5 separate regions of the Homo sapiens genome follow, and all the other regions are linked to region 5. The links are contacts of gene promoters, found by promoter capture Hi-C in blood cells and fetal thymus (Javierre and others, 2016). All regions are on one chromosome and are shown on one strand. The core of a region is centred on a gene start or on the middle of the fragment in contact, and the rest is flanking DNA. Distances in the headings are between cores, read along the strand shown.

Region 1 (6,056 bases), core at 3,328-5,827, 950 kb before region 5:
AAGTACAGAGTTTATGGAAACTTTCTGTACTATTTTTCTACCTCTTCTGTAAGTGTAAAAATCTAAAAAAAAAAAGTTCATCCCCCTGATTTCTAATGAGGCTGGGTATAATTTCAAGTATTTGCCTATACAGGTTTTAAAAAAAATATGGACCTTCAAGTATTTTCTCCATTTTCCTTTTCTTTCCTTTTGGCTTTTTCTTATTAATGTATTATATATTCATGATACCAATACATTTTTTATATAATGCAAATATACTAGTCTGTTGATTTTTTAAACTTTTTTATGTTGCCTCATGATGAATGGAATTTTTAAAATATGGTCAAATTTATTACTGAAAAGAAAGAGATTCAGAAGAGTTAGACTTTGTGAAGAAGTTTTAGGAATACCTTAACAAATTTATTTTGCCATTTTTTTTTTTTTTTACTTCATATACACACAAAAGGGAGACATGATTTAAATCTATGTCTAGGCAGGGCACAGGTGGCTCATTCCTGTAATCCCAGTACTTTGGAAGGCTGAGGCAGGAGGACTGCTTGAGCCCAAGAGTTCAAGACCAGCCTGGGCATCGCAAAACCCCATTTCTACAAAAAAATACAAAAATTAGCCAGGCGTGGTGGTGCATGCCTATAGTCCCAGCTACTCAGGTGGCTGAGGCAGGAGGATTGCTTGAGCCTGGGAGATGGAGGCTGCAGTGAGCTGAGATCATGCCACTGCAATCCACCCTGGACAACAGACTGAGACCCTGTCTCCAAAAAAAAAAAAAGTTTAAAATAGCCCTTTCAATAAATATAAAAATTCTAAGTAGTGAAAGTTTTATTTCATAATTGTATTAGTCAGTTCTCGTGCTGCTATAAGGACATACCCGAGACTGGGTAATTTATAAAGAAAAGAAGTTTAATTGACTTTCAGTTCTGAAAGGCTGGGGAGGCCTCAGGAAACTTACAATCATTGCAGAAGGGGAAACAAACACGTCCTTCACATGGTAGCAAGGAGAATGAGTGCTGACAAAAGGGGGAAAAGCCCCTTATAAAACCATCAGATAGGCTGGGAGTGGTGGCTCATGCCTGTAATCTCAGCACTTTGGGAGGACGAGGTGGGTGGATCACTTGAGGGCAGGAGTTCAAAACCAGCCTGATCAACATGGTGAAAGCCCATCTCTAGTAAAAAAAAAAAAAAAAAAAAAAAAAAAAAAAAAAAAAAACTCAAAATTAGCTGGGCGTGGTGGTACACACCTGTAATCCCAGCTATTTGGGAGGCTGAGGCAGGAGAATTGCTTGAACCCAGGAGGCCGAAGTTGCAGTGAGCTGAGATCGTGCCATTGCACTCCAGCCTGGGCAACAAGAGCAGAACTCCGTCTCAAAAATAAATAAATAAATAAATACAAATAAAACCATTAGATATTGTGAGAACTCACTCACTATCATGAGAACAGTGGCACAGGGGTAACAGCCCCCATGATTCAATTACCTCCCATCAGGTTCCTCCCACGACATGTGGACATTATGGGAACTACAATTCCAAATGAGATTTGGGTGAGGACACAGCCAAACCACATCACTCCGCCTATGACCCCTCCCGAATCTCATATCCTCATATTTCAAAACATGATCTTGCCTTTCCAACAGTCCTCCAAAGTCTTAGCTCATTCCAGCATTAACCCAAAAGTCCAAGTCCAAAGTCTCATCTGAGACAAGGCAAGACCCTTCCCTTATGAGCCTATAAAATCAAAAGCAAGTTAGTTACTTCCTAGATACAATGGCGGTACAGGCACTGGGTAAATATACCCTTTCCAAATGGGAGAAATTGGCCAAAACGAAGGGGCAATAGTCCCCATGCAAGCCTAAAATCCATTACACCAATCATCAAACCTTAAAGTTCCAAAATGATTTCCTTCGTCTGACTTGATGTCTCATATCTAGGTCACATTGATGCAAGAGGTGGGCTCCCACAACCTTGGGCAGCTCCACCCCTGTGGCTTTGCAGGGTACAGCCCCCCTCCCAGCTGCTTTCACAGCTGGCGTTAGGTGTCTGCAGCTTATCCAGGCATACGGTGCAAGCTGTCAGTGGATCTACCATTCTGGGGTTTGGAGGATGATGGCCCTCTTCTCACAGCTCCATTAGGCAGTGTCCAGTGGGGACTCTGTGTGGGGGCTCCAACCCCACATTTCCCTTCTTCACTCCCCTAGCAGAGGTTCCCCATGAGGGCTCCACCTCTACAGCCAACTAATGCCTGGACATCAAGGCATTTCCGTACATCCTCTGAAATCAAGGCGGAGGTCCCCAAACCTCAATCCTTGACTTCTGCACACTCACAGGCCCAACACCATGTGTCAGCTGCCAAGGCTTGGGGCTTGCACCCTCTGAAATAATGGCCTGAGCTGTACCTTGGCCCCTTTTAGCCACAGCTGGAGTTGAAGTAGCTGGGACTTAGGACACCGTGTCCCAAGGCTGCACATATCCCAAGGCTGCACAGAGCAGGGGGTCTTGGGCCTGGCTCAGGAAACTATTTTTCCTTCCTTGGCCTCCAGGCCTGTGATGGAAGGGGCTGCCATGAAGGTCTCTGACATGCCCTGGAGACATTTTCCCCATTGTCTGGATGATTAGCATTTGTCTCCTCATTACTTACGCAAGTTTCTACAGCCAGCTTGAATTTCTCCCCAGAAAATGGGTTTTTCTTTTCTACTGCATCATCAGGCTGCAAATTTTCTAAACTTTTATGCTCTGCTTCCCTTTTAAATACAAGTTCCAATTCCAAACCATATATTTGTGAATGCATAAAACTGAATGCTTTTAAGAGCACCCAAGCCACCTCTTCAATGCTTTGCCACTTAGAAACCTCTTCCATTAGATACCCTAAATTCTCTCTCTTAAGTTCAAAGTTCCACAGATCTCTAGGATAGGGGCAATATGCTGCCAATCTCTTTGCTAAAGCATAGCAAGAATCACCTTTATTCCAGTTCCCAACAAGTTCCTCATCTCCATCTGAGACCACTTCAGCCTGGACTTCATTGTCCATATTATTATCGGCATTTTAGTTCCAAACTTTCCCACATCTTCCTGTCTTCTGAGTCCCCAATTCTCTAGGAATTTCCAAACCTTCCCACATTTTCTTCTTCTGAGCCCTCAAAACTGTTCCAGACTCTACCTGTTACCAGTTCCAAAGTCGCTTTCACATTTTCGGGTATCCTTATAGCAGTGACCCACTAACTCCTGGTACCAATTTGTTGTGTTAATTCATTCTCATACTGCTATAAGGACACACCCAAGACTGGGTAATTTATAAAGGAAAGAAGTTAAACTGACTCACAGTTCAGCTTGGCTGGGAAGGCCTCAGGGAACTTATGATCATGGTGGAAGGGGAAGCAAACATATCCTTCTTCACTTGGTGGCAGGAAGGAGAATGAGTGCTGAGCAAAGGGGGGAAAGCCCCTTATAAAACCATCAGATCTTATGGGAACTCACTATCACAAGAAAAGGAGCATGAGGGTAACTGCCCACATGATTCAATTACCTCCCATTGGATCCCTCCCATGACATGTGGGGATTATTCGAACTACAATTCAAGATGAGATTCAGGAGAGGACACAACCAAACCATATCAATAATGAAAATGGCTACATATTTTCTTCTAGAGCTTTAGGGTTATTTTATTTATTTATTTATTTTTAAATTATACTTTAAGTTCTAGGGTACATGTGCACAACGCGCAGGTTTGTCACATATGTATACATGTCCCATGTTGGTGTCCTGCACCCATTAATTCGTCATTTACACTAGGTATATCTCCTAATGCTATCCTTCCCCCCCTCCCCCATCCCACGACAGGCCCTGGTGTGTCATGTTCCCCTTTCTGTGTCCAACTGTTCTCATTGTTCAATTCCCACCTATGAGTGAGAACATGCGGTGTTTGGTTTTTTGTCCTTGCGATAGTTTGCTGAGAATGATGGTTTCCAGCTTCATCCATGTCCCTACAAAGGACATTAACTCATCTTTTTTTATGGCTGCATAGTATTCCATGGTGTATATGTGCCACATTTTCTTAATCCAGTCTATCATTGATGGACATCTGGACTGGTTCCAAGTCTTTGCTATTGTGAATAGTGCTGCAATAAACATATGTGTGCATGTGTCTTTATAGCAATGGCTACATATTTTCTTATTAGTAATCCATAAATGATGACCTACCATACAATCACTACTGCCTTGGATTCAATAAAATAAGTGAAATTTACTCATTCAATGAATATTGTTTAAGTATTTACTGTATACGTAAGTCACTGTGCCAGGTTTTGGGGATACAATGATGAACTAGAGAATTGAAGCTTATGCTGTAGTTCAGAGGGATGAGCAATAAACAAATGGAAACTGATAGTTTAGTGGGTACTTTTACTTTAGAAAAGGCCTTTGTAAAGTGGTTAACATTTGACCTGAAATCTGAATGATGAGAAAGTGCCCAAAGATTTGGGCTAGAACATTCCAGGCAGAGACAACAGTAAATTCATGGGCCTTGAAGTAGGAACAAACTTACAATATAGGAAGAACCAGTTAACCAGGGGTTAGAGAATTTGGTGGGGACTATATCATTCAGGGCCTTGAAGAGCACAGTAAAAGAGTTTGGATTTATGTTAAATACAATTGGATTTCATCAGGATTCAGTTTAAGTTAAATTATAAATATTCTGTTGCTCTACCCTTCCCTCTATTAACTGACTCCCAGAGCTACAATGTTAGATGGTTACTTTTGGTGCAGCATTTTAGCATGTCCACATAATTATCCTATTAAGTGCAATTTTAACATTTTAAAGGGAAGCATTATATAAAGCTTTTGCATTCTTATTTAAATTCTAATATTTTATTACATTAGTGGTATTATGTTATTCTTATTTATATAATGCCCTTTAACTGTTTAGAGGCTGGTTAAAGAATAAAAAGTTTTGGGTTGTAGGCCTATAGGACCAAATCTTAATTATTTACATTAATTCTTATGGAAATAATTCTTCTTTATGAATGTTTTTGCTCTAGAAGTATTATTTCTGTTCTGAAACCTTGGATGTGGACCTCTTTACCATGCACTATTATCATAATTTTATCTTATTTAATGAAATATTTTTTAAGACCTTGTCTCATTCTGTTGCCCAGGCTGAAGTGCAATAGCACGATTATGGCTCACTGCAGCCATGACCTCCCAGGCTTAAGCAGTCTTCCCATCTCAGCCTGCTGAGTAGCTGGGACCACACATGCATCACCATGCCTGGCTAATTTTCAATTTTTTTGTAAAGACGGGGTTTCGCTACATTGCCCAGTCTGGTCCGGAACTCCTGAGCTCAAGCGATCCTCCCACCTTGGCTTCTAAAGTCTGGGATTACAGTTGTGAGCCACCGTGCCCAGCCTATCATAATTTTATAAAAGAAGATCCTCTTTAGTTTCCCTAAACAGGGAGGACATGTCAGAATAAAAACAACTCTTAAAATCTGGAATAAATTTAGCCTTATTTAATTTTTTTAAAAAAGCTCTATATTGACCTAATTTTTCTCATTCGACAGAGAAATGACAAAAATCTCACCCACCGCTGCTCAAGAAAACCTTACAAACTGTAAGAAATGCTTACTTTTGATTCTAAAGTAGACTTCAGAGATAATGTACTTATTGATGATTGTAGAGGGAAAAAAAGCACACAATCATTATCAATTTCATTGTCTAAGTTTTTCAGAGTAGAAAACTAAATATGATGAATAACTAAAAATAATTTCTCAAATTTTTTTCTGATGGTTCCTTAACAGACTATCTTCCCAAAATCCATGTCACCCTGTTGCATAGGAGATGGTTTTCCAAAGTGATTTAACAAGTTTCTGATTTAATTTAAAAAAAAACATAAAAAGATAACCACATTTTTTCAGTTTTTGATTTGACTTCAAAATTCATCTGAAAAAAATCATTATGTAGTGATCTAATAATGAAACCTACTTCTGTTTGTGGGTTTTACTTGTAGAAACAGTAAATCATTTTAACTTGTGATTTATATCAAATTGTTCCACCTGTTACTTTCTTTAATGC
Region 2 (5,869 bases), core at 387-2,886, 690 kb after region 5:
CAGACTCAGGAAGCGTACAAGGTCTTAATGAGTCAGTCTAGTACAAACTACACCATAATCTAGTAAGAAAGGAAGAAGAGGGATCGCAGATTGAAGGGATAGGAAATTGTGATCTTTAGGAAGTTCAAAGTGAAAATGATCAGAGGCTGACATAGTAAAGACATAAAAAGGTGTGGCAGTACTAAACAGCTCAAGAAGTGCTGCTGCCCATGGGAGAACACTTAGGATTGAAAATAAGTATGAATAAATGCTCAACTTTCTGGCAAAAAGTTGAGAAATTATGTGAGTTTGGAACCCTTGAACCAGGACTTAAAAATAGATATTTTTATTTAAGTGGCTGAAATTATCTAGTGAGTAATATTGGATTTAGAAGAGAGAACTGGACAGGAAGTGTAAGGAAATCTGAAAGCACAAAGAAAGAATTACATTGCATTAGAGTGTGAAGTTATTTACCTAAAGCTCTTTGGTATCAGAAATTCAAGAAAATTTTTGGCTTAATCACTTGTATAAAATAAGGACCGGCCGGGCTCGGTGGCTCACGCCTGTAATCCCAGCACTCTAGGAGGCCGAGGCGGGTGGATCACCTGAGGTCAGGAGTTCGAGGCCAGCCTGACCAACATGGAGAAACCCCGTCTCTACTAAAAATACAAATAAAATTAGCCGGGCATGGTGGTGCATGCCTGTAATCCCAGGTACTTGGGAGGCTGAGGCAGAAGAAGGGCTTGAACTCGGGAGGCAGAGGTTGCAGTGAGCCGAGATTGTGCCACTGCACTCCAGTCTGGGTGACAGAGCGAGACTCCGTCTCAAAAAAAAAAAAATAAGGACCACTACAAGGCTTTACAGTATAAGAATTTTGGGGCCAGGCAAGTGGCTCATGCCTGTAATCCCAGCACTTTGGGAGGCCAAGGCAAGCAGATCACCTGAGGTCAGGAGTTCAAGACCAGCCTGGCCAACATGGTGAAACCCCATCTCTACTAAAAATATCAAAAAAAAAAAAAAAAAAAAAGCTGGAAATGGTGGTGTGCCTGTAATCCCAGCTACTTGGGAGGCTGAGGCAAGAGAATTGCTTGAACCTGGGAGGCGGAGGTTGCAGTAAGCCAAGATCATGCCACTGCGCTCCAGCCTGGGTGACCGAGAGGGACTCCATCTCAAATAATAATAAAGAAAAAAGAATGTTTGCATGTTCTTCTACTCCCAAGAGCACTCTTCCCTTCTTAAGATATACTGCACATTGGTAAAAGATTAAAAACAAAACAAACTTGGAAAAGAAGCAATCTTTGGTTTCCTGGTCAATGAAGAACTTTGCTGAAAGAAGATATTCCCATTCAGAGAAAGCACAAAGTGAACACAACTAGAAACAACTGAAACTCAGTCTGGTATTTCAATACTGTGTCATAACAGCCAGACAACTTTCCAGCTGTTCTTCAAGACAGAAAACTCAGATTCTGACAATGAAGAAGATGGATGTGGCCCAGTGCAGAAGTCGGATGGACAAATGGTTCCAGAAGCTTTCTACTTGCAAATAACCTGAGTGATGAAGATTACAGGCTTATGAGTGATAACAATTTGCTAGGCACTATAGGTGAAGTACAGAAGAGTTGCTGAGAAGGTTACAACAAATTAAAGAGGATTCCCCACAAGAATCAGGTGAAAACAGAGGTGGATGACGTCTAGCACTAGTAATGGGTCTGTAATAAAGTGGCTTACCTCTTTTGGGCAAACTGAAAATATGACAGGAAGTAAGCAAAGAGAAAACCAAGCTTGGACAGCAGTGAGCCAGAGTAATCCATATAGTGGTAATTTCAGATTCAATGTAGGGATCAATTTTATCCTTAATAATGGAAGGCTGAATACAGAAAATGAATATGCATCATCTGCAAGATTTCCCAGGGGAGAAAATAGGGAAAACAGAGGAAAGTGGAAAATCCACAATCTGAGTCAACATTTGCAAGGCCACCTAGGTCAGGTACAAAGTGCGACAGAAGTATTAATGAAAGTTCCACTTACCAGAGGTCAGAGAAGACTGAGAAGCAGGAGCCCAGACCAATGGAGAACCAGAGCGAGAAATAAAAGTAGGTTCCCTCCAAATTCATGGTGAGAAATTTCACAAATATTTCATGATAATATACATCTCAGACTTTTGAATGACCCCTGGTAAATGAGACAGAGATTTTCTAGAACTCAGCAACATGAGACATTGAGAGAGCAAATAACTGACCCATAGTTGCAAAGTGGCATGTTTTTGTAGCTTTTGGAACATGGAATGCCTTTCCAGGAAAACGTTCTCCAGACACAATCAGAAATGGTGAATCTGGGGCACTGAGACTGAGAAATCCAGTCATAGTCCTGATTGTGATAGTAGGAAGAGTTCATCATGGGGAATATTTGCCAAGATATAGCACACCTAATAGAACCCAGTTAACATCTCCAACACCAAACAACAGTCACTTTAGAAAGTGAACAAAGAGAACTCAGAAATAATATTTTCACATTCTGAGCAAGCAGGTGTGAGCACCTATTTCACTACCAAAAGAATTCCTGTTCACAGAATTTCAAATACTCATTTAAATAATACACCTGTTGCAACTCAAAGAGCATTAAAGCAGACAATGACAAGATTTGCAGACTCAAATATGGACAGTGATAGTGATTTGTATCCTAGCGGCTCACCCCAGTCAGAACATGGCAAGAGCAAAGTCACAGAATGAAAGAGATGGTTCTGATATCAGCAACTGTTCTGGCTCCAATTCATGTCACAGTACTGCTTATGAGTCTGACTCAAGTTCTGCAATCTTTAAATCAGCCTCCAGTTTTTGAAGCGTTCATTATACATAAAGTAACAACCCGATCTAACTCATTGGTTCCTGAAGGAATGACTGAACCTTCCTCAATCAATTTCTGTTTCAGTAAAAAAAAAGAGGGAAGGAGGGAGAGGGGGAGGAAATGAAAGGAATTTCCAAACAAGTTTTCCTCTAGGTGCATACAGCTGTGACAGGACTGCCAGGCTCTGAAAGAACAAGCTTTTTATGTTAGAAAGGGAGTATCACCTAGCACTTTTAAACAGATGGCAAATGACCAGAAGTATGAACCTCTAGGCATGAAGAAGGCGGTTAATTACACCAAGACTGTGTTTATGTGTATACAATCACTAAGTAGCTGCCTCTATAGATACACTTCTTAACAAGTAAGTTTTTAAAACTTTTTATTTATTTATTTTACTTTTGAGCCAGGGCCTCACTCTGTCACCCAGGCTGGGATGCAGTGGCTTCACACAGCTCACTGCAGCCTTGATTTCCCGGGCTCAAGTGACCCTCCCACCTCAGCCTCCCAAGTAGCTAGGACTACAGCAGCATGCCACAATGTCCACCTATTTTTTTAATTTATTTTTTTGCAGACACAGGGTCTCACCATGTTGCCCAGCCTGGTCTCAAATTCCTGGCCTCAAGCAATCCTCCCACCTTAGCCTCTCAAAATGCTGGGATTACAGGTGTGAGCCACAGTTTTTATACTTTAAATAAAATTTTTAGATCTCACTAAATTGAGTTATTTAAAATCTGTGATCTGAGAAGCTACTTGTCAATATTATAACTGGATATTACATATAATTTTGGCATATCAAAAATATTTACATTGCAGCCAACACATATGGTCAATGAATACAAAAATTATTTATAAATGCACATATATTTACAATGACATCCCTGGGCAATAGGGACAAAAAAAAAAATTCACAAGAATACAAAAATCTTTGACCTGGTACCAGTTGGTCAAGCCTGGGATTCTTGCCAAAGACCTTGAATATCAAAGCCCCAGTCTCAACTATCTGCCTGAAACCACTGAAGAATCCCAGGCACACTTCCCAGAAGGCTCCAAAGTTATTTTTGCTCCTTGGAAAGCAAAGTAGAACATCGAAGTAGTGATGTTTTCTCAGGACCATTCTGAAGACTAGGGCAATCCAGCATGTTAAGCAGCAATGTGACTCTTCCTGACAAGCAGATGCACACCAGGGCACATCCCCATGGAAGCATCAGGAAGCACATTTGCCCCGTATCTTCCCTCTGCCGGTGCTGCACATTTTTGATGAGCTGTACCCATTTCTGTCAGCTGTTGCCATTTCTTCATCAGGTATAAGACCAAACAACGCATGGCCCACCTTGGTGCGGTCAGATGCAATCATAAAGAAAGAGTAAAGCAAATGCTGACTTCGGAGTTTCTTCTGAGCTCTGAGGTAGTAAATGCAAAATTAATTAATAAGTCTCTGCCCAGATTTCATCCTGAAGTGAGTTTCATGTGCCCTCACTACCATCTTGAATGTTCCGAGTCCTACTAAAATCAAAAGCATGATCCTGTAACCTGTGGCAGGACATGGAAGAAGCAGAACAGTCTGGCTCTCTCCCTGCCAGGCCCTCATTTTGATGAAGTTGTGGTGACTCATGGACTGGCTGCTGGGAAAAAGGAGGATGAGGCAGGCCTAGTTCTCTGTTTATGTTCCACACGGGCCGCTGCAATGTTTCTGAGAATGAAAGACAAGAATTATCAGTAGTGACTGGTAAAACTTAATATCCTTTTAGCCAAATCCTCAAAGAAATAAAGATGTTCAATATTCCTGAATAGGGACACTGAAATCACACACACACACACACACACACACACACACACAAAAACCACCACCAGAACATGGTCTTTCAAATCCCTCTACTTCACAAACCTAACCAATTATTTACTGAGATCATACTATATATCGTCTACTGTCACCTGTTATTTTAGCGATTCTGTTGCTACAAAATTTTTTATTTTATTTATTTATTTTTTTGAGATGGAGTTTCGCTCTTGTTGCCCGGGCTGGAGTGCAATGGCGTCATCTCGGCTCACCGCAACCTCCGCCTCCCGGGTTCACACAATTCTACTGCGTCAGCCTCCCAAGTAGCTGGGATTACAGGCATGTGCCACCATGCCCAGCTAATTTTGTATATTTAGTAGAGACAGGAGTTTCACCATGTTGGCCAGGCTAGTTTGAACTCCCAACCTCAGGTGATCCGCCTGCTTCAGCCTCCCAAAGTGCTGGGATTACAGGCGTGAGCCACCGTGCCCGGCCACAAAATTTTTAAATAAAACTCTTTAGACACATGGAAAAGAACTAAAAGACAAAATGGTATCCATATTGTAATGAAAGTTTCATGATAGGTAATAATCATTGATTCAGTGCAGCCATTATATCTTTAAATATGTCACAAAATTGTTTTAAAAATAAACAGCCATTCCCTTCCAACTCCTAGCATGTCAACAATTCTAACAACAAATGATAGTCAAAAGGAGCTGTATTAAATCAGATTATCTGCACACTGGTTTCAAATATGCATTTCTCATTCTTCTTTAATTACAATGGTGAACTATTTTCCCAAAGACTGTTTACTGAAAGTTATATTAACTTCATAGGGTACATTTTAGAAAAAGCTAGCCAAACATTATAAAAACAAATACCCAGAAATAAAAATAAAATCCATGTGAAAAGTAAGCTAGAGCAGGGTTTCTCAAGTTTTAATTAATATGCACACAAATAACTTGAGGATCTTGTTAAAATGTAGACTCTGATTTGCTAGATCTGCTCTGGGGTCATTACTCTGCATTTCTAACAAGCTCTTAGGTAACGGTGATGCTGATAGTCAACAGACCAGACTTCGAGTAAGAAGAAGCTAGGATACCCCACATAAAAAATCGCCAATGGGCCGAAGCACTCTCATTTGCTGATTTCCTTACTTACGGACCAGATTAAAAATGAAGGCATCCCCAAAGTTACAAAAAAGATGGGACTACATTTCTGGTCCTTCTTAAACCCTTTTTGTATTAACTCTTCTAAGACATCCAACAG
Region 3 (5,885 bases), core at 1,009-3,508, 970 kb before region 5:
CTAACTTCTGCCTCTTCAGTTGCATCTGCCGCTGTTCTCTTTAAGGCATGCTTAGTCTGTCTCTATTTGTCCAGTATCAAGAGGATGCATCCGATATGAAGGACATGTCCAAATACAAACCTCACATTCTGCTGTCCCAAGAGAACACACAGATTAGAGACTTGCAACAGGAAAACAGAGGTTAGTCAGGCCTTTTCATATCTGGTAATAGTTTAAAGTTATTGCAAAATTGCCCTAAACATTTACAAAAGTGTACATATATTTCCAGGTCAGTACTTTTAGTAGGAGAGTCCTCCTGATCTGGCCCAGTAACAATAAAGTTTGTTAGATTACCCTTTTCAAGGTCATCTGACTAATATTGCAGCAGCTTACCAAAGAGGTGCTGTGTAGAGTTGGTATTATTGCATGGTTTATTTTTAAGCATCCTCAGATGTGTAACAAAAGAGTTCATAGCCTCATGGACTTAAAATTTAATGTTTAAGTATTAATATAAACACTGAAGGTAAGATTTAAGGTTTTGTTTATGTTCTTGTTTGTGCAAGGTGAAGCAGCAGAATTTTATTCTAAGGGTATATATTCTTAGGCTTGATTAGTACATTATTAATGATTGTGGTATTAATAGTTGTTTACCAGAGGGGTTTCACATATATCATTCTACTGTATTCTCATATCTTCATTTTTATCTACCACAATGCAGTTAAGAAATAGGCTCAGAAGAAGCTAAATGATTTACTTATGAGTATTAACCAAGCAAGTTACAGAACTGAACTCAAACACATGTCTTCTGATGATACATCCATTGTTGTTTCTGCAAGACTTTGCTTCTCTGCCTAGAAAGTTACCTTTCACATAGACTTTAACTGTTCAGTTTTGCGGACTTAAACATTGATTTACAACTTTAGATTCATATTATCTATATAGTGTTACAAAATTCCAACTGTTAAGACTTTGGATTTGGGAACTGTCTCTCAGACATCACTGCCAAGTTCTTTTATTTTTTGACAGAGCTATGGATTTCCTTGGAGGAACACCAGGATGCTTTGGAACTTATCATGAGCAAATATCGGAAACAGATGTTACAGTTAATGGTTGCTAAAAAAGCGGTGGATGCTGAACCAGTCCTGAAAGCTCACCAGTCTCACTCTGCAGTAAGAAACTTTGAATAAATTCGAAATGAACCAAATTGAAATCTTGAGATTGTTTTAGATTGTGTGCTTGTTTTTTTGCTTTGTGAGATAGGGTCTGGCTCTTGTCGACCAGGCCGTGGTGTAATGGCACGATCTCGGCTCACTGCAACCTCTGCCTCCTGGGCTCAAGCCATCGTCTCACCTCTGCCTCCGGAGCAGCTGGGACTACAGGTGCACACCACCACGCCCTGTTAATTTTTGTGGGGTTGTTTGTTTGTTTGTTTGTTTGTTTGTTTTTTGGTAGAGATGACATTTCGCCATGTTGCCCAGGCTGGTCTGAAACTCCTGGGCTCAAGCGATCCACCCACGTTAGCCTTCCAAAGTGCTGGGATTATAGGCATGAACCACTGCGCCTGGCCATGTGTGCTTGTTTTTGAAGAAAAGTAAGCTCATTTTCCTTTCATGTTTATCACATTTGTTGTTTATTTTGCCATGGCTTTGTAAAGATATGAATAGAAAGAAGGAGGATAGGGGCTGCTCAGATCCTTTTATTTGAGTGGGACTAAGGTTCCCCCTCCCTCACCAAGATCTCTTTTGAAAATGTTCATTAATTCTTAGCGCTCCCACCAAACATAATGCCAGTTAGTGTTGAAGCTGCCTGGTAAACACTTGGTTGGTTATTACTTATACATTTAACTTAAGCTCCTTGCTTGTAAGGCGCATGAATTCACATTTTATTCCTAACATAGTACCTGACATACAGCAGGCAGTCAGTAAACCTTTTATAAACTGAACCACATAGTATCATACTATGTTGTTAGGGGAGAGAAGTATGGTTTTTTAAAAAAACAAACATGGCATAGTTTCTGTTCTTTGCTAATTTGGGAGACTCAGTAATTGTTCTTATGTTTATAGGTGCTTCATGGTTGTCATTGTACATTCTTGTGTACTGTATCATTTAATTCTAGATGTATAGGGTTGGAGCCTACTACTTCTGTGAGATGTAGTGAAATATAAGCTTCATCTTAAATTCCATTGAATGCATTTTACTGACTTAAAAGTTTTAGGAAACAGATATTTTAAATATTTGAATGGCTTTCATCTGGAAGAGAAAAATAGATTTTCTTCTCGTATGGAGGAAAAAACTTGAACCTTGAAAGAGACAGAGTTTACTCAGATAGATAAACTTTCTAAGTGATATGTCCAAAGATGGAATAAAGCACCTTGGAATGTAGTAAGCTTCCTGCCAGTAAAAGTATTCAAATTTAAGTTAAACAGCCACTTAGAGATAGTATCCAACATCCAATGGGTAGTTAAACTACAATTGATTTTTTTTTTCCATTTCAAATCTTTTTATTGGAGTGTGGACCTACTGGGGGATTGATGCACTGGACATAGATAATTTTCAGAAATGAAAATAACATTGCTTGCATCGAATCAGATTTCACCCACAAAAATGACTAAGGCCTTACCAGAGTTGGCATTGGATGAAACCTTAGTCCTTTATGGAAAGGGAATCATGTGGCCTTCTATTTCTGAAATAGACTAAAGATTACTCATTTATTCTCTGCAATTACAGCCATCAGATCCTTTGAAATCTTGGAAGGCATGAGATGATGACATGAGTGTAACACAAATCCATATTGAAGAGCCCAGTATTTTAAAATTCCCCATGTTCACATACCAAAGGGTTACTTATGAGCTGATGCATATCACAGATAACCATATGATTATCAACTTGATGTCTGGGCAAAGAGCGAAAACAGAAAATGCATTCTACTCTTCACTTCTTGGTTTTAAATATAAGAAACATTATATATATTTTAAAAAACTGTATTCCTTAGTAGTGGTATCAATAGAACATATACAACTGGAATGAGGATCCCCTTAAGGAGGCCTTTTTTTTGTTTGTTTTTTAAATAAGTTCTAGGGTACATGTGCAAAACGTGCAGGTTTGTTAACATATGTATACATGTGCCATGATGGTGTGCTGCACCCATTAACTCGTCCTTTACATTAGGTATTCCTCCTAATGCTATCCGTCCCCACTCCCCCAACCCTATGACAGGCCCCGGTGTGTGATGTTCCCCACCCTGTGTCCAAGTGTTCTCATTGTTCAATTCCCACCTATGAGTGAGAACATGCGGTGTTTGGTTTTCTGTCTTTGTGATAGTTTGCTCAGAATGATGGTTTCCAGCTTCATCCATGTCCCTACAAAGGACATGAACTCATCCTTTTTTATGGCTGCATAGTATTCCATGGTATATATGTGCCACATTTTCTTAATCCAGTCTATCATTGATGGACATTTGGGTTGGTTCCAAGTCTTTGCTATTGTGAATAGTGCCGCAATAAACATGTGTGCATGTGTCTTTATAGTAGCATGATTTACAATCCTTTGGGTATATACCCAGTAATGGGATTGCTGGGTCAAATGGTATTTCTAGTTCTAGATCCTTGAGGAATCACCACACTGTCTTCCACAATTGATTTTTTGAAAGAAAAAAAAAAAAATATCCGTGAATACAAGGTCACTTTACTATGGCTTCATGTCTGAGGACTAAAATTGTAGGGAAACTCCATTGTAACTTCTGTATCATAGATTAAATGAACTTTTAAAAATCGTAATGCACATGCTTTTACGTTCTTTATATCTACAGAACAGGTGATTTTTCCACCTTTGTTTCCTTAATATCTTCACAGGAAATTGAGAGTCAGATTGACAGAATCTGTGAAATGGGAGAAGTGATGAGGAAAGCAGTTCAGGTGGATGATGACCAGTTTTGTAAGATTCAGGAAAAATTAGCCCAATTAGAGGTAAGATTGTAGCTAATTTAGGTTCACAGTATTTCATAGTTTTCCGAGTCTGGAAGATATGCCATCACTATCCCATCACTGTAATATATTGATGTTTTCTGTGTGCTCATGATTTAAAATTAAAACTCCTCCTTCATACCCTTTTATACCCTTTTGAAGAAAGGAAATATAGTAAACAGCAATCAATGGAAATACCAACTATGTATTGGCAAGAACTTGAGGTATTATCATATGGGAAGGTAGAGGGAGTGGAGGGGAGAAGTTATATGTGAGATAAAATCCTTCATCTGCCATAATAAGAAGTGAAGTAGATAATGTCTAAAATTGATGATCAGGAAATAGCAGTATAAGCATATTATTTAGAATTACAGAATTAAATACCAAAAGAAATAGATAAAAGTGTTAAAAGTGGTTGCATTTGGGGTACAAAGCCAAAGAACTGCTTGTATAAGCCTTGTAGTCTTGATTTCTTAAAAGCTATGTTTATGTCATATTTTGATTAGAATAGGAATATGTTACAAAAAAAGTTCGGGGTATTAGTGTGCTCATAAAATTGTTAAGGAAAAACATTTCAACTTTGAGAGGCTGAGGTAAGTGAATTGCTTGAGCCCAAGAGTTCAAGAGCAGCTTGGGCAACATGGCGGAACCCTGTCTTTACAAAAAATACAGAAAATTAGCCAGGTGTGGTGGTGCACACCTGTAATCCCAGGTACTCAGAGGCTGAGGTGTGAGGATCACCTGAACCTGGGAAGTCAAGGCTGCAGTGAGCCACGATCATGCATGCCACTGCACTCCAACCGAGTGACAGAGTGAGACCCTGTCTCAAAAAAAAAAAAAAAAAAGCAAAGCATTTCAGTGAATGGTTTGAATGCTGCTTATTACAAGGTGCTGTCCTGGGGCCTTTGAGAAATACCAGAGAGAAAAAAACAGATACCTGCCCAGAGTCTAGTGGAAGGGATAACCCTAGTATTATATGATATTAAATAATATGTAAATGCTAGGAGACAGATACAAATACCGAAGGAAGCACTTCATGTGGTAGAAGATTCGTCGACCACAGGCTCTAATCTCTTAGTTACTCTAGCTGGGACTTCCGCACATCTTGGTGAAGCTAAAAATGCTTTGGTTTACCAGAGTTTTCTGCAGAGGATAAGGATGAAGAGCAGAAGCTACCCTCTCTAGAAATCAAAGGTAGTGACAGGTCCCAAGTAGGAATTAGGAGCTAGTGAAATGATAGCATGACCTTCTATTTATCCCCGATTTACCTCACTTACGGAAACAGCCCTAAGGAAATGTGGGGCAAATTCTACCTTAATACTTCAAGTAGAAAATACACGACCACCAGATTCAGACCCCAGCAATACCACATCCAAGTTGTCTGAATTTGGACAACTTTTAGGAATTTTGTGAGCCAGAGTATCCTCATCTGAAATATATGGATGTAGGCAATGATACCTACCCTACAGATTATTGTGAGATAACATATACAGGGCACCCAAGTAGTACCCAGCTACATGCTCAATAAGTAATTTCTTTCCCCCTTTCCTTCCATTTCTCTAGAACTGTAAGATATCCAGGAGAGGAGATTAATCAGAGTGAAACGATTATTAGGAATTTTTTAAATAAAAGAAATAATAGTAAAACTGTGGGAACCAAGAAGAATATAACAGTGAATTCCTTAAATGGAGAGGACCTTGTTTTTTGTTTCTCCTTTGTAATCCTAACACTTGGTATATAGAAATTACTCAGTAAATTACTACTACAAAAGAGTATCATTGCCTACATCCTACATGTAAATGTTTGTTAAATGAATAAAGTAGTATTTAAGGAAATTCTCAACTAGTGGATTTTTTGTTTCCATAAATTTTTTAAAATTAAAATAATGTTTTCTGCTCCTGGCTCAAAATAATGTGTTGTTGTAATGCAGTTGGACAGTAAAAA
Region 4 (6,162 bases), core at 2,982-5,481, 920 kb before region 5:
CATAGGCACGGTGGCTCACACCTGTAATCCCAGCACTTTGGGAGGCTGAGGCGGGTGATCACTTGAGGTCAGGAGTTCAAGACCAGCCTGGCCAACATGGTAAAACCCCGTCTCTACTAAAAATAGAAAAATTAGCCAGGTGTGACGGTGGGCACCTGTAATCCTAACTACTCAGGAGGCTGAGACAGGAGAATCGCTTGAACCTAGGAGGCAGAGGTTGCAGTAAGCCAATACCATGCCGTTGCCCTGCAACCTGGGTGACAGAGGAAGACTGTCTCAAAAAAATAATTGCAAAAACATCTCATCATGTTTTAAGAAGGTTTAACAATTTGTTGTGTTGGGCCACATTCAGAGCTGTCCTAGGCCATGGTTTGGACAAGCTTGCAATTAAACCAGAGTCAAAAAGGTTTTGTTTTGGCAGAACTTCACAAATTGTTTTTTAAGAGTTTGTGTCTGGGAGTGGCATAAACCAACCAGATTTTTTCCCAAACATGTTTTATGAACTCATTTTCTCAGACATAATTTGCATTTAGTTACGTTTGGGATCATATCATCTACACTATAACTCAGTGTTGCCAGTGGAACTGGGTACATTGAATGAAAATTTAAGTTTCTTGAGTTTTTTTTAATCCTTTGCCTTTGAAGAACTGGTTGTATTTGACACAGTGTATTTAACTTTAAAAGTTTGTAAGTCTGAATGTGTGATTTTTTTTTTTTTTTTTACATTTTCAAAGGCAAGATCTGTTTTGCTTTACGGTATGGAAAATATAACTTGGCTACTGTCAGGACTTGGCAAGGATTAAATGTCAAAATATTGTTTAGGTCATATTTAAAACTTACAGAATCACTTCTGCAGTGAGCAGATATGTAGTATGTAATACAATAGCAGATTGATAATTTGTGTTCATTGTTTCATTAAACATGAGTATCTACCATGTTCCAGGTACTCTTGATACAGTAAGCCTTACAAAGCTGATAATTTAGTAAGAAGGAAAAAAAAAAAAGAGAAAAGATTGCATATATTTTATTCTTCAGATGTAAATTTTAACTCTTTCCTGGGCCTAAACTCATGCAATTTTTGAGGTAGAGACTGGAGAAGTGCCTTTGTCTACTTTGGAATTATGGTCTGTAAATTAGTGAAGTTTCTGGAGATTATATTGTCATTAGACTTGGGCTTTTATGAAATACATTGTGTTCACGTGTTTACGTTCACATGTGGTAATTTTTTCTAGTGCATATTTGCCAGGAAGTAGCAATTGGAGAGTCTTAGAAAATTGCTCAGGTTAAGTTACTTTGTTGAAAGCAATGAGTTTGTACTTAAGTGAGAACAGTTCAAATGTGGATACAGTATTTGTGTCACATCAGAGAAAATTCCTGATGAATTTAACTTGATGGTGGTTGTAAAGTTGAATGTTGCCTTCTTGACAAGTTTCACAGCCAGTGAAAATATTATTTGGGTTTCAGGGTGTGATTGCTGCCATGAGAGATGGTTTTGGTTTCATCAAGTGTGTGGATCGTGATGTTCGTATGTTCTTCCACTTCAGTGAAATTCTGGATGGGAACCAGCTCCATATTGCAGATGAAGTAGAGTTTACTGTGGTTCCTGTGAGTTGTTTCTGAGAAAAGTTGGGAGGTGTTTCTTGATGCTTTCTTTTTCAATTGAAAGTTAATTTTGTTTTATCATTTTTAGGATATGCTCTCTGCTCAAAGAAATCATGCTATTAGGATTAAAAAACTTCCCAAGGGCACGGTTTCATTTCATTCCCATTCAGATCACCGTTTTCTGGGCACGGTAGAAAAAGAAGCCACTTTTTCCAATCCTAAAACCACTAGCCCAAATAAAGGCAAAGAGAAGGTAGGTTTTGCATAATCCAAATGATTTTTGTAGCTGTTTATTTCTCTTCTGCTTTAACAGCACATAGTAATAGAGTACATATAATCAGCGGAAGTTTGTCTCTTTCAGAATTTCTGTCATATTAACAGTGAACTAAACAAAGTAAGGTTTCTTAACCTTGGGATTATTGACATTTTGGGATGAATGATTCTTTACTGTGGGGGATGGGATGTTTAGCAGCATTTCTGGCCTCTACCCACTGGAAGTTAGTATTCTGACCCCTTTTCCCTGCCTCCCATTGTGACAGCCAAAAATGTGTCCAGACATTGCCAAATGTCCCCTGGGAGGCAAACTCATTCCAAGTAGAGAACTAGTTATATAAAATGATAGTACTGTCTTCCAGGCAATTTAAAACTTTCAAAGTTGGGTGTATCCTCAGTTCACACATTTAAATTTCATTTATTGAAAAATCCACTAAATAGGAAATAGAAAGATGTCTGAGATGAATTCTCCTTTCAAGTTAATAACAAATTGAGAGTTTTATAGAAACAAGTAATTCATATAGAATATAAAATATTGCTATTGAAGGTCAGCGATAGTGCTCTGGTGAAAATTAACTGGTAGGGTATGTGATGGTTTTACTAACAGATGGAGACAGGAAAGAGCATTCTTCACAGAGTAAAAGTATAGATGAGAAAAATTCAGGGTTTCTTTAGGAAGCAATGAGTAACTAGTCCGACAGGAATTTTTTTTTTTTTTTTTTTGGTTTTGTGTGTGGGTTTTTGTTGGTGAGGGAGGTTAGGAGAAATAAGGATGAAAAATCAGGATCCAGCTAGACTGGGAGGGTGTTGATTGCTGCTCTAAAGAATTTAGACCTTATTGTCAGGTGCGGTGGCTCACACCTGTAAACCCAGCACTTTGGGAGGCTGAGGCGGGCGGATCACGAGGTCAGGAGATTGAGACCATCCTGGCTAACATGGTGAAACCCCATCTCTACTAAAAATACAAAAAAATTAGCCGGGCATAGTAGTGGGCACCTGTAATCCCAGCTACTCGGGAGGCTGAGGCAGGAGAATGGCGTGAACCCAGGAGGCAGAGCTTTTAGTGAGCTGAGATGGCGCCATTGCACTCCATCCTGGGCGACTGAGTGAGACTCCGTCTCCAAAAAAAAAATTTAGACCTTGTTCTGTACTTCAAGGAAAAGATTTCTTTTGGATAATGACATCAGGTATGTGCTTTGGGAGAGTAATGGCAGCAATATGAAGCCTAGATGGGATGGAGAAAGACAAAAGATGAAAAGGATTACTATGAAATTACTTGGATAGTTAAGGTAGTCCTTGAACTAGGCACACAGATAGTGACTATAGACAAGTGAAGGTACATGAGAGATACTGGAAAGTCATGTTATAATTTAATAATTGCTATTAGCCAGAAAGAGCAAGGCTAGTATCTTGCTTATCACTTACTGTAGCTTGGGAAATTATTTCACCTCTGAGCTTCAGTTTTTAAATTTCAAAAATGATTGTGTAATAGTTTAAAAAGCCCTCGAAGTACCTAGCTCATAATAGGAATTTCGCATGTGACAGATGATACTGTTAACAAAAATAAAAATACACTTCAGTTGGGCTTATTTTTAATAACTTTTAATTCTTGGAATGCTCTGCTTCCCAAATGTGTCTGGCAAAACTGGCTTGATGAAGAGAGCCTTTGTGTGAGACTTTCCCTGCCATTTTTTGTTTTTTTTTCTTTCTTAGTCCAACAGTACCCTAGTAAATCCTCTGTCATCATGCTTCTTACAGTATATAACATTTACCTGTTAATGAATCTGTCTCTGCTGCACTGGACTCCCTCAGGGCAGGGATTCTCCTATCTCTATTTAATATATTTGATGTATAGTATATTGTCAGCTGTTGATGTTGAAGTTGGTGAGTTAAGAGCAAAAGGTGAACAGTAAGCTTTTGAGTTTGGTTGTGGAAAAGTTGATGACATTGGAGTCAGACCTGAGTTCACTGACATTGTTCTTAACCAAACTCAAATCCTCTGGATTATTTTGCGCTGGGTTTTGTAACCTTGGTAAGGTTTACTTAATTCCTCAGATTTCCCCAATTTGTAAAATGAGGGAAAAGAGAAACTATGGAGATGATTTTGTACAAGATTAATTTGATAATACATAATACCTGGTAATGTTGTAAGTGTTCAATAAATTATTATATAGCAGTTATGGAAGGAATGTGATTGGTAGAAGAGGAAAATGAATTGGTTTTGAATATATCGTAGTTTGTAATGAGGACTGGAGTTTAGGAAGGAAGTCAGGGCTAGAGTAGGGACATGGGCATTATCTTCATAGAAATGTTGAAACCATAAAATCAGTATAATTTATGTAGTTGCTGTACACTGTCATTACTTAACGGTGTGATTCAATACGACACACCTGAACTTTCTTAGACTTTTATTTTTTTAGTCAAGTGCAGTAGTGAGAAGGGGGGAAAGAGGAGAACAAGGAAGTTCGATCTGTAACTGACTGAACAATCGAGATAACCCACTACCTTCAGACCAGCCCTTAGATTTTTTAAGAGTTAATCATTCTTACACGTACGATGACTGAAATGTTGTTTCTCCTTGAAGTCTGGTATTAAAAAAAATTGTTGAAATACTAGTATGTCATAATTTTTAATCATCTACTTTATGTCAAGTACTTGAACTGTGCTAGATCATACACCAAATTATCCTGCATTGTTAAGTATATTGATTGACATTATATATTAAATACTGTGCAAGGTGCTGTGTGCTACTAAAAGAGGATACTTCAGCAGCTTCTTTAGGAAATACTAAAGCTTCTTGCCCTTATAGAATTTCCACTTCCTTGGAAGTAACATGCCCAGTTTAATTTCTGATTGGCTATGAGGAGCGCAGGTGTATTAAACATTTTCAGTAAGCTTTTTTCTCCTCAATAGCAAAAATTAGATTCTTAAGATTGAAAGACCAATTAAAAATTACAGCAGACTGAGCTAGGCTTAAGGCAAGACTACCTTTTATTCATATGAATAATCTTTTAGAAAATGCTGGAATAAGACATTTTTACAGCTGTACCAATCCTTTGGCACAAGAATATGTAAGAACTATAGTTGTTTTTATTGGTTTTTGTTCTTGAGATTGTTTTCATTCTGTTTTTGACTGTATCTCTTTAGGAGGCTGAGGATGGCATTATTGCTTATGATGACTGTGGGGTGAAACTGACTATTGCTTTTCAAGCCAAGGATGTGGAAGGATCTACTTCTCCTCAAATAGGAGATAAGGCAAGATAATTCTGCTCATTCGAGAGAGGGTTAAGAGTTGTCATCTTAATCATAAATCCTGCAGGATGGGTTCTTCAAATTTTATCAAGTTTTGCTGAAATATATTTTGTGTTTAAGAGAAATACATGAATATCTTGTATTTGAAAGCAGCTTATTAAAAGTGTCTGTCAAGCTCTTTGTTAATCAAAGCCTTGTTAATCTAGCTGTTTAAACGTTAGATAAAACATGCTTAATAAAATCGTTATTGGTAAGAAAGTTAAAACAGTTACTACTGAAACATTATCAAAGTAAAAGCACACCAAAGATTTTACGTTGTTGTTCATTTTTTCTCATACTTAATATGTTTGGTTTTTGGATAGCCCTCTAGAGAAATTCAGAATCTATAAGGAATACAGACTGAAAGATAAAAGTTTGATCCTTTGTGAAAAGTGGGATGAGACATAAATGTTTTGGTGAAAATCAATTTCATTGAAGTAATAACAAAGGATATTTGGAATGAAAAGCATGCGCTGGGGGAGTTATAGGTCTTGTTTTCTGAGTTAAGGAGATTGGTGTGGAAGTGATATGGTGTTAATGAGCATCCTTAATTTTCACAGGTTGAATTTAGTATTAGTGACAAACAGAGGCCTGGACAGCAGGTTGCAACTTGTGTGCGACTTTTAGGTCGTAATTCTAACTCCAAGAGGCTCTTGGGTTATGTGGCAACTCTGAAGGATAATTTTGGATTTATTGAAACAGCCAATCATGATAAGGAAATCTTTTTCCATTACAGGTAAGGCGTGACTTTCAGGAACTTTACAGCTAACTTACCATCCATTCTTTGGTGTTGGAATAAAAAACATTTAGTATTGATTGATTATACTTGTTGAGGTTCAGATTTCATATTGGTAGAATTATGGCAAGATATAAACTGAAGTTAATCACTGATCTTACTATATACAGAGCCTGTGGCCAAAAGAAATAGAAAGGCCTGTGCCACCTTATTTTTTGTGTTGGTACCATAGAGTTGGCCATTTGGTGTATAATGTAGTG
Region 5 (5,950 bases), core at 1,942-4,441:
ACCATCAAAAAGAAAAGTCATAAAGTCACATGTTGCTGAAATGATAAAGAACCAACATCATCAACATGCACATCTTTTGAAAGCATCCAGAAATAGCCTTCATTAGTTGTGAAAAATTTTCTCATCCTCCTTCTTTGGGGTGGGGTAGGGGGAACAAGTTTGAAGAAGAAAGATAAATAATAATGTTTACTTACCTACTTAGTTTTTCAGGATTGTTTATTTTTTCTAAGATTTTCAAACATAATCTCTTGGTAAATTGAAGGATTTCTGGACCGACATAGAGGTATAACTAGATGTAATACAATAATGTTATAAGTAACGGTGCTATATTTTTGTGAAATTAAAATTTCCTGACTTCATTTAATGGGATGGAGTGGATGACAAAAAGTCATAGACAAATGATATTATATACTAAATTATCAAAGCCTATATATAACCAGGGTCCTACATTCTATTATTACCATTATTAAATTTGTAAGTGCTCTTCAAATTTAAAGTGTTATTAGTATTCTGTTATCATTTAAGCTTTAGATTACTACAATCCCTTTATAATCTATTACTAAACTGGTCAAGATGCTGCCTAACATTTAAAAAAAGACCATGTATTTGCATATATTATAATATACTCTAAAATCCAAGTATTCATTTCTATACTTAAAACATCTTTCTTTTCATTCAACTTTATTTTTGTTCCCAGGTTTTGCAAACCGTTTTTCAAAACCCAAAGGACCAAGGAATCCACCACCAACTTGGAATATTTAATAAAACTCCAGATTTATAATAATATGGGCTGCAAGTACACCTGCAAATAAAACTACTAGAATACTGCTAGTTAAAATAAGTGCTCTATATGCATAATATCAAATATGAAGATATGCTAATGTGTTAATAGCTTTTAAAAGAAAAGCAAAATGCCAATAAGTGCCAGTTTTGCATTTTCATATCATTTGCATTGAGTTGAAAACTGCAAATAAAAGTTTGTCACTTGAGCTTATGTACAGAATGCTATATGAGAAACACTTTTAGAATGGATTTATTTTTCATTTTTGCCAGTTATTTTTATTTTCTTTTACTTTTCTACATAAACATAAACTTCAAAAGGTTTGTAAGATTTGGATCTCAACTAATTTCTACATTGCCAGAATATACTATAAAAAGTTAAAAAAAAAACTTACTTTGTGGGTTGCAATACAAACTGCTCTTGACAATGACTATTCCCTGACAGTTATTTTTGCCTAAATGGAGTATACCTTGTAAATCTTCCCAAATGTTGTGGAAAACTGGAATATTAAGAAAATGAGAAATTATATTTATTAGAATAAAATGTGCAAATAATGACAATTATTTGAATGTAACAAGGAATTCAACTGAAATCCTGATAAGTTTTAACCAAAGTCATTAAATTACCAATTCTAGAAAAGTAATCAATGAAATATAATAGCTATCTTTTGGTAGCAAAAGATATAAATTGTATATGTTTATACAGGATCTTTCAGATCATGTGCAATTTTTATCTAACCAATCAGAAATACTAGTTTAAAATGAATTTCTATATGAATATGGATCTGCCATAAGAAAATCTAGTTCAACTCTAATTTTATGTAGTAAATAAATTGGCAGGTAATTGTTTTTACAAAGAATCCACCTGACTTCCCCTAATGCATTAAAAATATTTTTATTTAAATAACTTTATTTATAACTTTTAGAAACATGTAGTATTGTTTAAACATCATTTGTTCTTCAGTATTTTTCATTTGGAAGTCCAATAGGGCAAATTGAATGAAGTATTATTATCTGTCTCTTGTAGTACAATGTATCCAACAGACACTCAATAAACTTTTTGGTTGTTAAACTGACTTCATTGCAGTAGTGTTTAGGTAATACTTCTCCAGAAACTAGTGAAATCAAACCACAGTAATTTTATCTGCTGAGTATATATCATTGTAATCAATTACTTCCAAATGTCTTTATCAATAAACAAATATACTAAAAGAATTCTAGGTAACCATGAGTTACTTAGGGCACCATGAGTGCATCTGTAGACCCAGCTACTCATTCCTTGAGCCCAGGAGTTGGAGGCCAGCCTGGTCAACAGAGCGAGACCTTGTCTCTTTTTTTTAAGAGTCAGGGTCTAGATCTGTCACCCAGGCCAGAGTGCAGTGGTGCGACCACTCCTCCCACCTTAGCCTCACGAGTACCTGGGACTACAGGCGCGTGTCACGACACCCAGATAATTTAAAAAATACTTTTGTAGGGACAGAGGCTCACTATGTTACCAACGCTGATCTGGAACTCCTGGCCTCATGCAATCCTCCCGCCTCGGCCTCCCAAAGCTCTGGGATTACCGGCCTGAGACACCGAGCCCCGCCCCGCCCGTCTCTAAATAAATACTTAAAAGAACCCCAGGTAAAAGCTAAAGCGAGGATGAAATTCTAAATGAATTTCTGAGCAACAACTATCCGTAGTGAGCAGTGATGATTTTTGGTGTGTTCTCCGGTAGGCACACTTTTCAAATTTATGCAATCTTATCCTTAAGATTTGAAAAAAAAAAACTTATAAAAAATCTTAAACGTGGTTTTCCATCTACAATTTTTCGCAACTGTAGGGATATATTCAAAATAAATGCTGGACATTTCCAGGCATTAGAGGGGATGTGGCCGGATGGCGAGGAGGGGCCGTCCTCACCAGGACTCCAAGCAGTTCTCGCACCTGACTTCGTAGGCCTGTAGTTGTAACCATAGCAATGCCCCAGATGCTTGAAAACATTTCTGAATTGCGGCCCTATCATATTTTTACAGCAAAACCACCCTTATTTTACATATTACTAAATCCTCTTTTCACCTTCATTTCATCCCTCGTCAAAGTTAAAAGGATGAAGATTCTTTTATCTCACAAAGGTTATGAGAGAAATATTAAATTTAAAATCACTGTGGAGACCACCTCCTCCGTGTAAAATGAGGAAGGGTCACAGGAAGATGATAATGGGAACGCGCCGCCAGACTCTGAAAGCCATTAACATTGTTTCGGCCGTTAGGGCGGTTGGCGGCAACTCACCGCCCAGCGGCGGTTGCGTCGCAGCCAGAAGCGTGACTTCGCGCACGCTCCCTTTCCACTCCTCCACTCAGAGCCGGGGACGCGGCGGGGGCGCGGCGGAACTACAGCTCCCATGACGCTTTGCGCGGCATAGGGTGCTTTACAATAGAAGCTCGGTTGGAGAGGCCTGCGGAGAAAAGCTGGGAACGGCCGCTTCCGGCATGTTCATCTCTGGACGAAGAACGGCCGACAAGTGGAGGGCGGAGGAGAGACTCCAATGCCCAGCGGGCAGTGCGCGGGCGGCGCTTGCGCGATGCGCGGACGGGGGGGCGGTCGGGCCATTTAAATGTGTGTTTGTGGGTGAAATGGCTGCGCAGGTCGGAGCGGTGCGCGTAGTACGGGCGGTGGCGGCGCAGGAGGAGCCGGACAAAGAGGGGAAGGAGAAACCTCATGCTGGGGTCTCCCCGCGGGGAGTTAAACGGCAGCGCCGATCTAGCAGTGGGGGGTCTCAGGAGAAGCGGGGGCGGCCGAGCCAGGAGCCCCCTCTCGCTCCCCCTCACCGGCGGCGTCGCAGCCGCCAACATCCTGGGCCGCTGCCGCCAACGAATGCAGCCCCAACTGTCCCAGGCCCTGTTGAGCCTCTTCTCCTGCCGCCTCCGCCGCCACCTTCGCTGGCACCCGCCGGGCCCGCTGTCGCTGCCCCTCTCCCGGCCCCAAGCACCTCGGCCCTCTTCACCTTCTCGCCTCTGACGGTGAGCGCGGCCGGGCCCAAGCATAAGGGCCACAAGGAGCGGCACAAGCACCATCACCACCGCGGCCCCGATGGTGATCCCAGCTCCTGCGGAACCGATCTCAAGCACAAGGACAAGCAGGAAAACGGCGAGAGGACTGGAGGGGTGCCTCTGATCAAAGCCCCCAAGAGAGGTGAGAGCAGGCAAACTGCCCGGCTTGGGTTCTAGGTCTCTCTCAGTTCCGATATCCCGCATCTTTAGGACTGAAAGACGCCAAACCCCTGCTTACCTTCTGCTGCTGTACTTCTCTAAGCTCACTGGGGTGGACCCTGGATTTCAGATCGTTGACACGGTTTGATCTAACTACTTGAGGCTTCTCGCTCCGAGGCCGAGCTGTCAGTTGCTAATCCCTTTACCGGTCCCCCGGAGCCTCTCAGCATTTGTTTTCAAATTCTGCAAGGTTTCCGCGCCGCGTTAGATTAGTAGGTGGGGTACTAAAAAATGCCTTTCCAAAGAAAAGGCATGTTCCTAAAATCCCTTCTCCTTGTTTTGCTTGCTGGAGAGCTTTAGTTATCTGCTCTCCCTTGCTCCAGAATAGTCAGGGGTATGGTTCCAGTCTTTCAGGAGGGAATTCATATAAAGGTTACACGACTCACTGGTTGACTTAGCTTCTGCAAGGTAAAATATCAGACGCAGTTTATCTTGGTTCTTTTTAATCTAGAGGTAAAAATCATTTTAAAGTTTTCATATTAGCTATTTAAATTCTTAGAATAGGCATGTGGAAGGTTTTCTCTACCCTTTGATACTAGGAAATAGGACCAACAGTGCCTCTGAAAAGTGGGAATTTGTGCAGTAGATAGTAGAGGCCGGAATTTCAGTTGCATTTGATTCTGTCTAGCACACTTTGTGGATCTGTTAATTCCAATAGCCCTCAAGAATATTTTACTAGAAAATGTCAGAGTATCCAATTAAATGTGGATTCTAGAAAAATTAGATTGGCCAGAACTGATGTCTTCCTGTTCCCAAGTACCTGTAGCATTTATTTATATTCTTTGTGGAAGAAATGTGATGCTTTTGATTATGCCGTATGTTTGTACTTTATATATTATTTTATATAATTTACTAGTTGTTTTTCCTCAGGAATATTTGAAATACTTGTTTCTTAGTACTGGACCAGTTAGGTTATTACATGTTAATGAGACAATCTTTCAACCTAAAGTTTTGTGAGTCTTGCATTCTTTCCACGTATTGAGTCTTAAGGCTAATCATTTTTTTTGGTGGTGCTATTTCCGAATACTGTAGTTCGTTGCAAATAATTGCTCAATAAGTATTTATTGAATAGCATTAAATTTTTATTCATTTGGTGGCATCCAAATCTTGGGAGTAGAACTTGTGGCAAGATGACAGGACTGCCAGTTTTCACCACCAATATGCAATGATCTTGCTCTCTTTTTATTTTTACTTTTATTCCCTACTTTCTCATTTCTTGTGTGTGTGTGTGTGTGTGTGTGTGTGTGTTTTAACTGTACAGAACTAGAGGGAATTAGTGATCCTCTGGCTTAAATTTGTATTGTAGAAAAGGAAACTGAGGCCCAAAGTAGTAAAGAGGCCTGTTCAATCAAATCACAGTTAATTCGCATGAAGTGCAAAAAAATTAAATATTTTTTAAAAAGGTGAATATTGGCATAACAGGCAGTAGAACCCAGGCTCCTGAATCCTGCTTCAAGCTTCATCTCCAGGCTTCATGATGTTGCTTTCTCTTCCTGCTATTCATTTTTTCCACTCCTTTGTTTACCTTTTCCCTGTGCTTTGACATTACAGTGGCTTTATATCATCGAGGATCTCTGACCTGGCCCCGTTTTATGGGGGATAGTGGCAATAACATGTGTAATAATTTACAATCTTTCTCTGAAGATTGCACAGGCCCCATGTTCTTTAAAAAACACACTTCTGACCTAATGCTGACTGATAGAACTTTCTCAGATGATGGAAATTTTCTGTATTTGTGCTGACCAATATGGTAGCCGTATGTGGTTCCTGAACAGACTTGAAATGTGGCATGATTGAGGAACTGAAATTTTGATTTTATTTAATTCTAATTAATTTATAATTAGTCACATATGGCTAGTGGCTACCACACTGGACAACACCACTCTAAATATCTGTAGTTTGCCAACATGTGAAGA

What was found. Contacts are between HindIII fragments. The CHiCAGO score rates a contact against its expected background, and 5 or more counts as called.
Region 1: a contact is called between a fragment that was not itself captured here and the fragment with the promoter of RSBN1 in region 5, in 1 of 17 cell types (total B cells). The highest score is 5.1, in total B cells.
Region 2: a fragment that was not itself captured here is called in contact with the fragment with the promoter of RSBN1 in region 5 in 1 of 17 cell types (M1 macrophages); the score reaches 6.4 in M1 macrophages.
Region 3: a fragment that was not itself captured here is called in contact with the fragment with the promoter of RSBN1 in region 5 in 3 of 17 cell types (total CD8 T cells, fetal thymus and total B cells); the score reaches 6.9 in total CD8 T cells.
Region 4: a fragment that was not itself captured here is called in contact with the fragment with the promoter of RSBN1 in region 5 in 1 of 17 cell types (total CD8 T cells); the score reaches 5.3 in total CD8 T cells.

Annotation. Positions count from the first base shown.
Region 1 is chr1:114,760,365-114,766,420 of GRCh38, reverse strand. No RefSeq gene overlaps it. Among named protein-coding and RNA genes, the nearest start is that of CSDE1, 5.4 kb to the right of the region's middle. The HindIII fragment of the contact is 499 bases long and covers 4,328-4,826 here.
Region 2 is chr1:113,122,519-113,128,387 of GRCh38, reverse strand. LRIG2 (leucine rich repeats and immunoglobulin like domains 2) reads right to left here. Exons shown (of 18, transcript NM_014813.3): 18 at 1-4,513. The coding sequence ends at 4,287. It also overlaps the pseudogene RLIMP2. Among named protein-coding and RNA genes, the nearest start is that of LRIG2, 52 kb to the right of the region's middle. The HindIII fragment of the contact is 252 bases long and covers 1,511-1,762 here.
Region 3 is chr1:114,774,405-114,780,289 of GRCh38, reverse strand. It overlaps SIKE1 (suppressor of IKBKE 1), which reads left to right. Exons shown (of 5, transcript NM_025073.3): 2 at 75-180; 3 at 1,006-1,148; 4 at 3,831-3,944. Among named protein-coding and RNA genes, the nearest start is that of SIKE1, 3.3 kb to the left of the region's middle. RefSeq lists an enhancer at 1-419. The HindIII fragment of the contact is 221 bases long and covers 2,148-2,368 here.
Region 4 is chr1:114,725,951-114,732,112 of GRCh38, reverse strand. CSDE1 (cold shock domain containing E1) reads left to right here. Exons shown (of 20, transcript NM_001007553.3): 11 at 1,465-1,605; 12 at 1,691-1,855; 13 at 5,023-5,130; 14 at 5,727-5,902. It also overlaps the pseudogene RNY1P13. Among named protein-coding and RNA genes, the nearest start is that of NRAS, 12 kb to the right of the region's middle. The HindIII fragment of the contact is 879 bases long and covers 3,792-4,670 here.
Region 5 is chr1:113,809,717-113,815,666 of GRCh38, reverse strand. It overlaps RSBN1 (round spermatid basic protein 1), which reads left to right and starts at 3,191. Exons shown (of 7, transcript NM_018364.5): 1 at 3,191-3,957. The coding sequence starts at 3,255. It overlaps AP4B1-AS1 (AP4B1 antisense RNA 1), which reads right to left and starts at 3,055. Exons shown (of 5, transcript NR_125965.1): 1 at 2,842-3,055; 2 at 1,176-1,280; 3 at 195-289. It overlaps PTPN22 (protein tyrosine phosphatase non-receptor type 22), which reads left to right. Exons shown (of 21, transcript NM_015967.8): 21 at 698-1,856. The coding sequence ends at 762. RefSeq lists enhancers at 2,791-3,320, 3,057-3,446, 3,321-3,850, 3,827-3,916, 4,067-4,126 and 1 more. The HindIII fragment of the contact is 4,966 bases long and covers 528-5,493 here.